Linked DNA regions of Homo sapiens: regions 1 and 2 are each linked to region 3. Evidence: promoter capture Hi-C in 16 types of primary human blood cells and fetal thymus (Javierre and others, 2016). All regions are on one chromosome and are shown on one strand. Each heading gives the region's core, a stretch centred on a gene start or on the middle of the fragment in contact. The rest is flanking DNA. Distances are from core to core; before and after follow the strand shown. Region 1 overlaps ATG3 (autophagy related 3). Region 2 overlaps SLC35A5 (solute carrier family 35 member A5). Region 3 holds the start of SLC9C1 (solute carrier family 9 member C1).

What was found. The method cuts DNA at HindIII sites, captures the fragments that hold promoters and counts their contacts. A CHiCAGO score of 5 or more calls a contact.
Region 1: a fragment that was not itself captured here is called in contact with the fragment with the promoter of SLC9C1 in region 3 in 1 of 17 cell types (erythroblasts); the score reaches 5.8 in erythroblasts.
Region 2: a fragment that was not itself captured here is called in contact with the fragment with the promoter of SLC9C1 in region 3 in 1 of 17 cell types (activated CD4 T cells); the score reaches 5.0 in activated CD4 T cells.

The regions. Positions count from the first base shown.
Region 1 is chr3:112,554,073-112,557,317 of GRCh38, reverse strand. The region is part of intron 2 of ATG3 (autophagy related 3); the gene reads left to right. Among named protein-coding and RNA genes, the nearest start is that of ATG3, 6.3 kb to the left of the region's middle. The HindIII fragment of the contact is 3,918 bases long and covers 1-3,245 here.
Region 2 is chr3:112,583,457-112,586,420 of GRCh38, reverse strand. SLC35A5 (solute carrier family 35 member A5) reads right to left here. Exons shown (of 7, transcript NM_017945.5): 7 at 842-2,964. Among named protein-coding and RNA genes, the nearest start is that of SLC35A5, 23 kb to the right of the region's middle. The HindIII fragment of the contact is 3,705 bases long and covers 1-2,964 here.
Region 3 is chr3:112,292,586-112,295,816 of GRCh38, reverse strand. SLC9C1 (solute carrier family 9 member C1) reads left to right here and starts at 1,601. Exons shown (of 29, transcript NM_183061.3): 1 at 1,601-1,724. The HindIII fragment of the contact is 3,564 bases long and covers 738-3,231 here.

The DNA.
Region 1 (3,245 bases), core at 194-2,693, 260 kb before region 3:
TGGTGGCTCACGCCTGTAATCCCAACACTTTAGGAGGCAGAGGCAGGCGGAATACAGGCTAACAGGGCGAAACCCCGTCTCTACTAAAAATATAAAAAATTAGCGGGGCGTGATGGTGGGCGCCTGTAGTCCAGCCTGGGCGACAGAACGAGACTCCGTCTGAAAAAAAAAAATGGTTTGCATAACTAATCTTTTCTCTAAAATTGTCTTTTGTTTTTGGTGAAGACACATGGTAGTATGGAAATAACCTAGGAGACCTGCCTTCTAGACCTATTTCTGTAATTTCTTTTTTTTTTTTAATTGATCATTCTTGGGTGTTTCTCGCAGAGGGGGATTTGGCAGGGTCACAGGACAATAGTGGAGGGAAGGTCAGCAGATAAGTGAACAAAGGTCTCTGGTTTTCCTAGGCAGAGGACCCTGTGGCCTTCCGCAGTGTTTGTGTCCCTGGGTACTTGAGGTTAGGGAGTGGTGATGACTCTTAACGAGCATGCTGCCTTCAAGCATCTGTTTAACAAAGCACATCTTGCACCACCCTTAATCCATTCAACCCTGAGTGGACACAGCACATGTTTCAGAGAGCACAGGGTTGGGGGTAAGGTCACAGATCAACAGGATCCCAAGGCAGAAGAATTTTTCTTAGTACAGAACAAAATGAAAAGTCTACAATGTCTACCTCTTTCTACACAGACATGGCAACCATCCGATTTCTCAATCTTTTCCCCACCTTTCCCCCCTTTCTATTCCACAAAACCGCCATTGTCATCATGGCCCGTTCTCAATGAGCTGTTGAGTACACCTCCCAGACGGGGTGGTGGCCGGGCAGAGGGGCTCCTCACTTCCCAGTAGGGGCGGCCGGGCAGAGGTGCCCCTCACCTCCCGGACGGGGCGGCTGGCCGGGCGGGGGGCTGACCCCCCCACCTCCCTCCCGGATGGGGCGGCTGGCCGGGCAGAGGGGCTCCTCTCTTCCCAGTAGGGGCGGCCGGGCAGAGGGGCTCCTCACTTCCCAGTAGGGGCGGCCAGGCAGAGGCGCCCCTCACCTCCCGGACGGGACGGTAATTTCTCCTAATGAGGAAATCAGTTAAACTATCCCTGCCGAGGCTTCATGTTTCCTCATCTATAAAATAACGGTTGTGGGCTAGACATTCTGTAAAGATCCTATTCTGCCTTAGGTTTTATTACCTCAAATGCCAAATAAAACTAAGTTTTGATTTTAAGGATATCATTAACATTCTTGCCAAACAGAGGTGTAATTTGAACATGGCTCTTTATCTGAAATCAAGAGCGGAGATGAAAGTATGCTGTTCTTATTGCACTCTTTGGTTTTATTTCCTCTGTGAAGATGACTAATTGTTGAATATATAGTTGCAGTTAGAGATGCAAAGTCTGTGGTCATTGGATAGAATTAAGCAGTTTCAAAACAGGAATTCATCCTAGAATAAATAACTGTTACACTTAATTACAACATCAATCAATTTATGAATTTTCCTCTCTAAAAAAATCCAAGGCCAAATTAGCCCAGCTGGCTGTCTATTACATAATGCAGGGTTGGGATAGAGCACAATTACAGGATTGAGTTAGAGTAGAATGAGCCTGGAGGAGGAAATGGGAAGGCATCATTTGCTTTGTGTAAATATTATATACTGAGTTGATTTGTTCATTTGTTTCATCTTGCTGTTTCTGAGTTTCTGCCAGACATCAGCTATCTTTTTGTTTTCATTCAGAGGTGTGGCAGTATTGTGCTTAAAAAGAGGGGCAGCTAGTATCTGATACTGTATTGTCAAAAAACAAAGAAAAAACTAATGTTGGATGTATGTATGACTTGTTTAAGTAGAATACTATTAATTGAGGTTAGCTTGAGGAATGGAATTGCTCACCAAGGTGTAAATATTGATTCTTGTTGGAGTTGGTCAGTATTATATACTGATAATAAAGATAATAAGAGAACATTTTTAGTCTCTAAGAGAAAGCTATTGCAAGCAATATTGATCATTTAGAAATTTGAATCTTGCATCATTTGAACACGTGAAGCAAGTTATGATGGCCATTGCTAATGAGGGCAGATGTACACATGTATTATCAGTGTGAGTCTGTGTTTTTTTTGTTTTGTTTTTTGTTTTTCGTTTTTCTTGCCTCCTAGTGTTCTTGTTTTTAAATAGAAGATACTATAGGGACTATGAGATAAAATGTTAGTCTTGTTACCTCAAGGCAATACAATGAAAGAATTTTTTATTTTTAATTATTTTGCTTTCATTTAGTTAAATTATTACTTTTAATGGTAATAAATTAGTTCCTGATAACCACAGAGCTAAATGTAGCATCTGGTTGCAATGAGCTCGAAGTGCTCAAAATTTGGGGAAGAGACTATTGTTTTTATTTTGGTTTTTGTCTTTACTTAGGCTGTTTAAATAATAAGGTTATTCGAAGTAAAAGAACAGAAACATAAAGTTTCTATCAGGAATCCAGTTGCTATATCTTGTTAATGTTTCATCTTAAAAGAGGTTATTCTTAGAATTCTTATTTGATAGAATTATATGCTCAAATTAAACTAGAGTATTTTATATAGGCATACTTTCTCAAAGGTATTAGAGATTAAATATTTTGTAATTTTTTGCTGTGTAGTAAACCCATGAACAATACAAGATTTTAAGCTAGAGCTGTTGCAAAATAGAAGTAATTTGGCAAGTATGTGGGTGTCACATGCGTCCATGTGTAGAGACCACCAAACAGGCTTTGTGTGAGCAACAAGGCTGTTTATTTCACCTGGGTGCAGGCGGGCTGAGTCCGAAAAGAGCAAAGGATGGTGAGATTATCATTAGTTCTTATAGATTTTGGGATAGGCAGTGGAGTTAGGAGCAATGTTTTGTGGGCAGGGGGTGGATGGCACAAAATACATTCTCAAGGATGGGGAGAATTACAAAGAACCTTCTTAAGGATGGGGGAGATTACAAAGTACCTTGATCAGTTAGGGTGGGGCAGAAACAAATCACAATGGTGGAGTGTCATCAATTAAGGCTATTTTCACTTCTTTTGTGGATCTTCAGTTGCTTCAGCACATCTAGATGTATACGTGCAGGTCACAGGGTATATGATGGCTTAGCTTGGGCTCAGAGGCCTGACAATGCACATCCTGCTTGAGTTGGGACACTGCAGTTATGCTTAACAGACTTAAATTTTCTGCCCTCAGAAATAAGCAGGATTTCTGTTCGCCAGTAAGATCAGCTCATGTTCGTGTAAACTGATAATTC
Region 2 (2,964 bases), core at 299-2,798, 290 kb before region 3:
TTAATCGAGCCTATTGGGTCTATAAAGAAAAGCAAAAAGATTCTCTGCAGATCTACCCAGTCTAGTCCAGCTTACAAGTGACAAGGCTTCCACATGGGACTTCAGAAGCAAAAAAAGCCTTAGAGTTATAGAGTAATTTGTCAAGTTATCCCCTCTGTATGTGGATCTTGAAAACCCACGGCAGCAAGATGCAGCTGGACAAGGATTTGAGATCTTGAGTCTAAGCCATCTTTCTCTCTATAACCAACAGCCATATTGATGCTTTCCCTCAGGATTAGGCATATTCCTGGACAGTTCAGTCCTAGGACCAATGACAGAGTTAGACCAGGTCATTCACTGCAGGCCACACTTGTGGCACAACCAAAGCCTATGCAGAAACTATCAAGGGAACAGATTCAGTGCATTATGTGTAGGTCATAACTGTGCAGAAGAGAATCTAAAAATAGAAAGGGACTTTAGAAATCAGTCCAACTTCTACACTCATGAAGGAATCTCTTCTAAAACATCCTGATGACACAATCTCTTCCTAAAAACTTCAGTGATAATTTACTACTATTCTCTATTACTCTTCAGGAAGGTTCTTTTAACTGTTGAAAAGTAACCTATTTTGGCAAAGTCCTCATTATAATAAAATAATAATCACTACCATATAAATCTTACTGTAGTTTGATTCTCCAGAGCAGAAAAATGTCTACTTCCTTTTTCACATGACAATTGCTCCTCTCCAGGTTATACTATCCTCATTTCAGGGGCATGTAGGATATGGTTTCCAGACTTCTGACCTTCTTAAACCAGTGGTGCCCATAAGACCTCCAGTGGATACATATCAGAACTTCGCATCTTAAAAAAAAAAACAACTTTTATTTCAGATTGAAGGGGTACATGTACAGGTTTGTTACATTGCGTATATATGGTACATTGCATAATGGTGAAGTTTGGGCTTCTAGTGGACCCATCACTCAAACAGTGAACATTGTACCCAATACATATTTTGTCAACCCTCATGTCCTTCCCATCTGATATGATTAGGCTTTCTGTCCCCGCCCAAATCTCATCTTGAATTGTAATCCCCATAATCCCCAGGTGTTGAGGAAGGAACCAGGTGGGGGTAATTGAATCATGGGGGCAGTTTCCCCCATGCTGTTCTCATGATAGTAAGTTCTCATGAGATCTGATGGTTTTATAAGCATCTGCCATTTCCCCTGTTGGCACTCTCTCTCCTGCTGCCTTGTGAAGAAGGTGCTTGCTTCTGTTTCGCCTTCAGCCATGCTTGTGAGTTTCCTGAGGCCTCCTCCCCAGCCATGCAGAACTGCGAGTCATTTAAACCCCTTTTCTTTATAGATTACCCAGTCTCGGGTATTTCTTTGTAGCAGCATGAGAATGGACTAATACACCACCCTTCTCACTTTGGAATCCTGTGTCCACATGTACCCACTGTTTAGCTCCCACTTATAAGTGAGAACATGTGGTATTTGATTTTCTGTTTCTGAATTATTTCAGTTAGGATAATGGCTTCCAGCTGCATCCATGTGGCTTTAAAGCACATGGTTTCATTATTTTTTATGGCTGCAAAGTATTCCATGGTGTATATGTACCACATTTTCTTATTCCAGGCACCACTGATGGACACTTAGGTTGAGTCCATGATTTTGTTACTGTGAATACTGCTGTGATAAACATACCACTGCAAGTGTCTTTTTGATAAAACGATTTATTTTCCTTTGGGTAGGTACCCAGTAGAGGGATTGCTGGGTTGAATAGAACATTTTTAGTTCCAGCACATGATCTTGTGCTCTCACTCTTTCTCTTCCTCTCTCATTAAGTGGCAAGTTAACATAAGTAAACTTAACTTTGTGCAAAAAATGCTTTCCAAAGAGGAAGGTGAGGAAAAAAAGTAATCGTAAATAAGAAAATCAATCTCCATGCACTACTGAAATCTGCTATTTAATGTATTCTGTATGTGATACCTTTGTAAGAATATTTTTGTAATTTTTATGTTTTATGAGATAAAAATGTTTTGTATGCCACATTTCCTAGAAAGGTCCTGCTGTACCTCATTTCCCTTACCTTTAAAATAAATCGCCATAATAGATATAATCTTCGTATTTCACATAACTGATGAAAATGCCTTTGTTATTGTTAGAAGTAAAGATCTACTTAAAGAGAAAGTTTTAAAAGTTGTGTAGGTTTTTGTCTCACTCTATTTTTTAAGATTAAAAGTACTCTACATCCCACCCTAAATGACAGAGTGGCAACACAAGACATAGGTTTAATAATTATTTTAATTACAAATTTCCACCAATTCTTGCCAGTCATATTATTGTGGATATCACAAATGAATTATATAATAGTATATTACCTTATATTCATCTGCATGAAACTTAGGAGAAAGGAGAGCAGAAATGTGTAAGTTTCTGAGAATGACACCATAAAGCTCATATTTACAGTATGGTAGTCTGTAAACATACAGGCCTGCCAGTTAAAGCCCACTCTTCTATCATCACCCAGCTGCATGACCCTGAGCAAGTCACTTTTGTTTGCTAATTTTTAATATCATCTATCACCTGACTTCTCTATCTACGAGAGTTAACTGGCTGCATGCAAAATACCATGAAAAATACCATGCACTTTTAAGTGTGAAGTAGCACTGTAAAGTGACTTATATATTACTGGTCTTTCTATTTTTAGAGTATTAATATTCATACATCAGTTAAAAGTCAACATGTGTTTGCTAAGTGATCCTTTTGAAAGGATCCCTTTAAAAGTTCCTAGGCATCAGCTTCACTGACAATCTGGTATGATTCTGAAGCCAGCATTTCAACTCTTGGAAAGATATACAATAGTCACAGCTTGAATTAGTAACTAATAAAATAAAATGCCCTCTTATTCTCCAAAATGTAATAATTCAGGAGTAATGACATCAAGATTTTTCTCCTCAAACTGAGGAGAAAAAAGCCCCACCGT
Region 3 (3,231 bases), core at 352-2,851:
CCCATCTCTTGGAAAAAAAAGGTGAATGATTCTGGATTACAAGGATGTCCAGTGTGTGGTCATTAGAGTATATTGCTAAAGAGAAATATTAGACAACATTTACATTTCCTGTTTTATTTATATATATATATATATATATATATATATAAACTTAGCAAGACATATGTATATAAACAAATACATAATGTGGCAAATATTAGCTTTGCAACTTAATTAATTTTTAAATATATATCCACACATGAACCACAACCCACACACAGATATGTGGCATGTATTTCCAACAATGAGAATCCTTTTTTTTTTTTTTTGAAACGGTGTCTCACCCTGTCTCCCAGGCTGGAGTGCAGTGGCGCAATCTCGGCTCACTGCAACCTCCATCTCCCGGGTTCAAGTGATTCTCCTTTCTTAGCCTCCCGGAGCTAGGACTATAGGCGCCTGCCACCATGCCCGGCTAATTTTTGTATTTTTAGTAGAGACGGGGTTTCACCTTGTTGGTCAGGCTGGTCTCGAACTCCTGACCTCAGGTGATCCACCTGCCTCGGCCTCCCAAAGTGCTGGGATTACAGGCATGAGCCACTGCACCTGGCCGAGAATAGATTTTTTAAAGACCCAAGAAAAGGGGCAGCCCAGCAAGACAGAAAATTTCACCAGTAACTGCTCTACTTTAACCAAACACCACAGAAAAGTGTTCACCCACTCCCTGTACCCACATACCAGCAAAGACTGAGTAGGAAGCTTAAACTTCACCCATACCATACAAGATGCCAGAACCCTGCCTGTTTCCCCACCCCAACCAGAGCAGTATCAGAAAAGGCCTTGTGGGAGCTGGAACTTCCATAACAACCAGGCCATAAAGATGCACCCCATGCCTCAGTTGGAGACCATGTAGGGAGCCTGGACTTCTGCTCCAACCCAGCCAAACAAGTTGCCTCCTGCCTTCTTCATCAGGGTAGTATCAGAGGAGGCCAAATGAAGAGTTGGGAATTTTACCACCATTCACTTATAAACGTGTGGGTCGGGAGAAAGAGATGAAACACAGAGAACAAAACATTAAATACAATTTTAAATAACTTTAAGATATTTTATGAGAGTAGGAATGTGAAAAGTTGGCTCTATAGTAATAACTAAGTAATTTCAATTAAAATATTTTTTACATATTATGTTTAGAAAAAACAAATGAGTATATCATTATTCCTGAAAATTTCCTCACATATAACCCAGAGTGAAAGTTCACCTTGTCATCTTGATTTCATTCTCTTACATGCCCACAATATCCATTCACTTTTTCCCTAACCCAGCAACCTGCGTCCTCATATCTCTACCACACTATCTTATCCAGGAAACTTCCTTTTACTAGAATTCTGGGAAAGCAGTGTCCAACAGCTCTTTGTCAGAAATCCACTGTCCCAAAGTCTTAAATTAACACAATGGCGCAATTTCTGTAGGTTCATTTTCACCCCTTATTTGTTTATTTTTAAAAAATAAAACAAAGCCTTAAGCCGTCAAATGCCTGAGATATACAGGAGCAATGACGTTGCATTTCATCAGCCAATCAAGTAAGAGATGATGGGCCTGAAGCTAACCGGTGCAGACTAGGGGCGAGTTTGGAGCAAGTAACTGTCAGTGAGGTTGCAGTTGGTCTGGGCTGTTTGGCTGTGAGCGAAATAGCTGCCCCCCACTTCTCACTTGCACACCACGGGATACTCCTCCTGAGGCTCCGGATGGTGAGCTCTCCAGTCTCTAGTTTCCTTTTCTGGAAGTTGACCTTTCCTACTGGTACTTTCTCTCTCAGTCTCGCCTCCTAGATGAACAAAGGCTCCCACTGTTTTCCTGCTAGAGATTCAGCCACTCCCTCTTGGCGCTTCTGCCTTTCTTGTGGCAGACCATGGAACACTTTCCCAAAGATCAGCTAGCTTCTCGGTTTGAACTTCTACCCCTTAGCTGCTTCCCCTCCTCCATTATGCTTTTTACATCAACTCTTTGTGAACTATCCAGTGGCATGTGTTCCCTTTGCGTTACTGAAACTGAAAAGTCCAGCCCTAGGGGAAAGCTCACTGGTTCAGGGAATCGCCTCAGGTGTGTGGAGCTGATCTTGAGCTGGAGGAAGGGCTCATTCTGAGTGGAGGGGCATTAGGAGGGCAATAGCCCACCCACCTTCAGAGTCAGTAAGATGTCTGCGTTGTGTGGTAGGAGAGTTTACTAAGGAGACAATCCAGCCTCTGGTATCAATATAAAATAAACCATTAAGCATGAGCTTTGTAGCTGTGAAGATTACTGAGATCCCACAGTGCCCTCTTCAGGATGCTTTCTTCACCTAATTCTTGCAAAACGTTCCAATCTGAAGGAAGAAGACTGTTTCCATGTTCAGTAACATGGTAAATTAGTGTGACTTACGGTTCATGAGACAAAATTTCTCAATGCTGGCTGACTGACAAGGACAAATTCATGTCATTTTTGAGAGGGCAGTCATTAATTTCCTCCACACACAAAGAGAATTGAGATATTAGCTAACATGAGAGATATATATATATATATATATTTGAAATAGAGTCTCACTCTGTCACCCAAGCTGGAGTGCAGTGGCACAATCTAGGCTCACTGCAATCTCTGCCTCTTCAATTGATTCTCCTGTCTCAGCCTCCCAAGTAGTTGGGATTACAGGCATGTGCCACCACACCTGGCTAATTTTTTTTTTTTTTTTTTTGTATTTTTAGTAGAGACAGTTTCACTATTTTGGCCAGGCTAGTCTCGAACTCCTGATCTCAAGTGATCCACCCGCCTAGGCCTCCCAAAGTGCTGGGATTACAGGCGTGAGCCACTGTGCTCAGTCAACTAACTTATTGTTAAATTAATGCAGAGGACCTATGTGATAAACCAATATTTTTTTCTTTAATGGGATTTGGACTCACAGACTTTTACAAAGCTGTCAAAAGTCAGCTTAAGATGAAGAGTTCTAATTATATTGAAAACCTGTGGCCGGGCGTGGTGGCTCACGCCTGTAATCCCAGCACTTTGGGAGGCCGAGGCGGGCAGATCACAAGGTCAGGAGATCGAGACCATCCTGGCTAACACAGTGAAACCCCGTCTCTACTAAAAATACAAAAAATTAGCCGGGCGTGGTGGCTGGCGCCTGTAGTCCCAGCTACTCGGGAGGCTGAGGCAGGAGAATGGTGTGAACCCGGGAGGCAGAGCTTGCAGTGAGCCGAGATCGCACCACTGCACTCCAGCCTG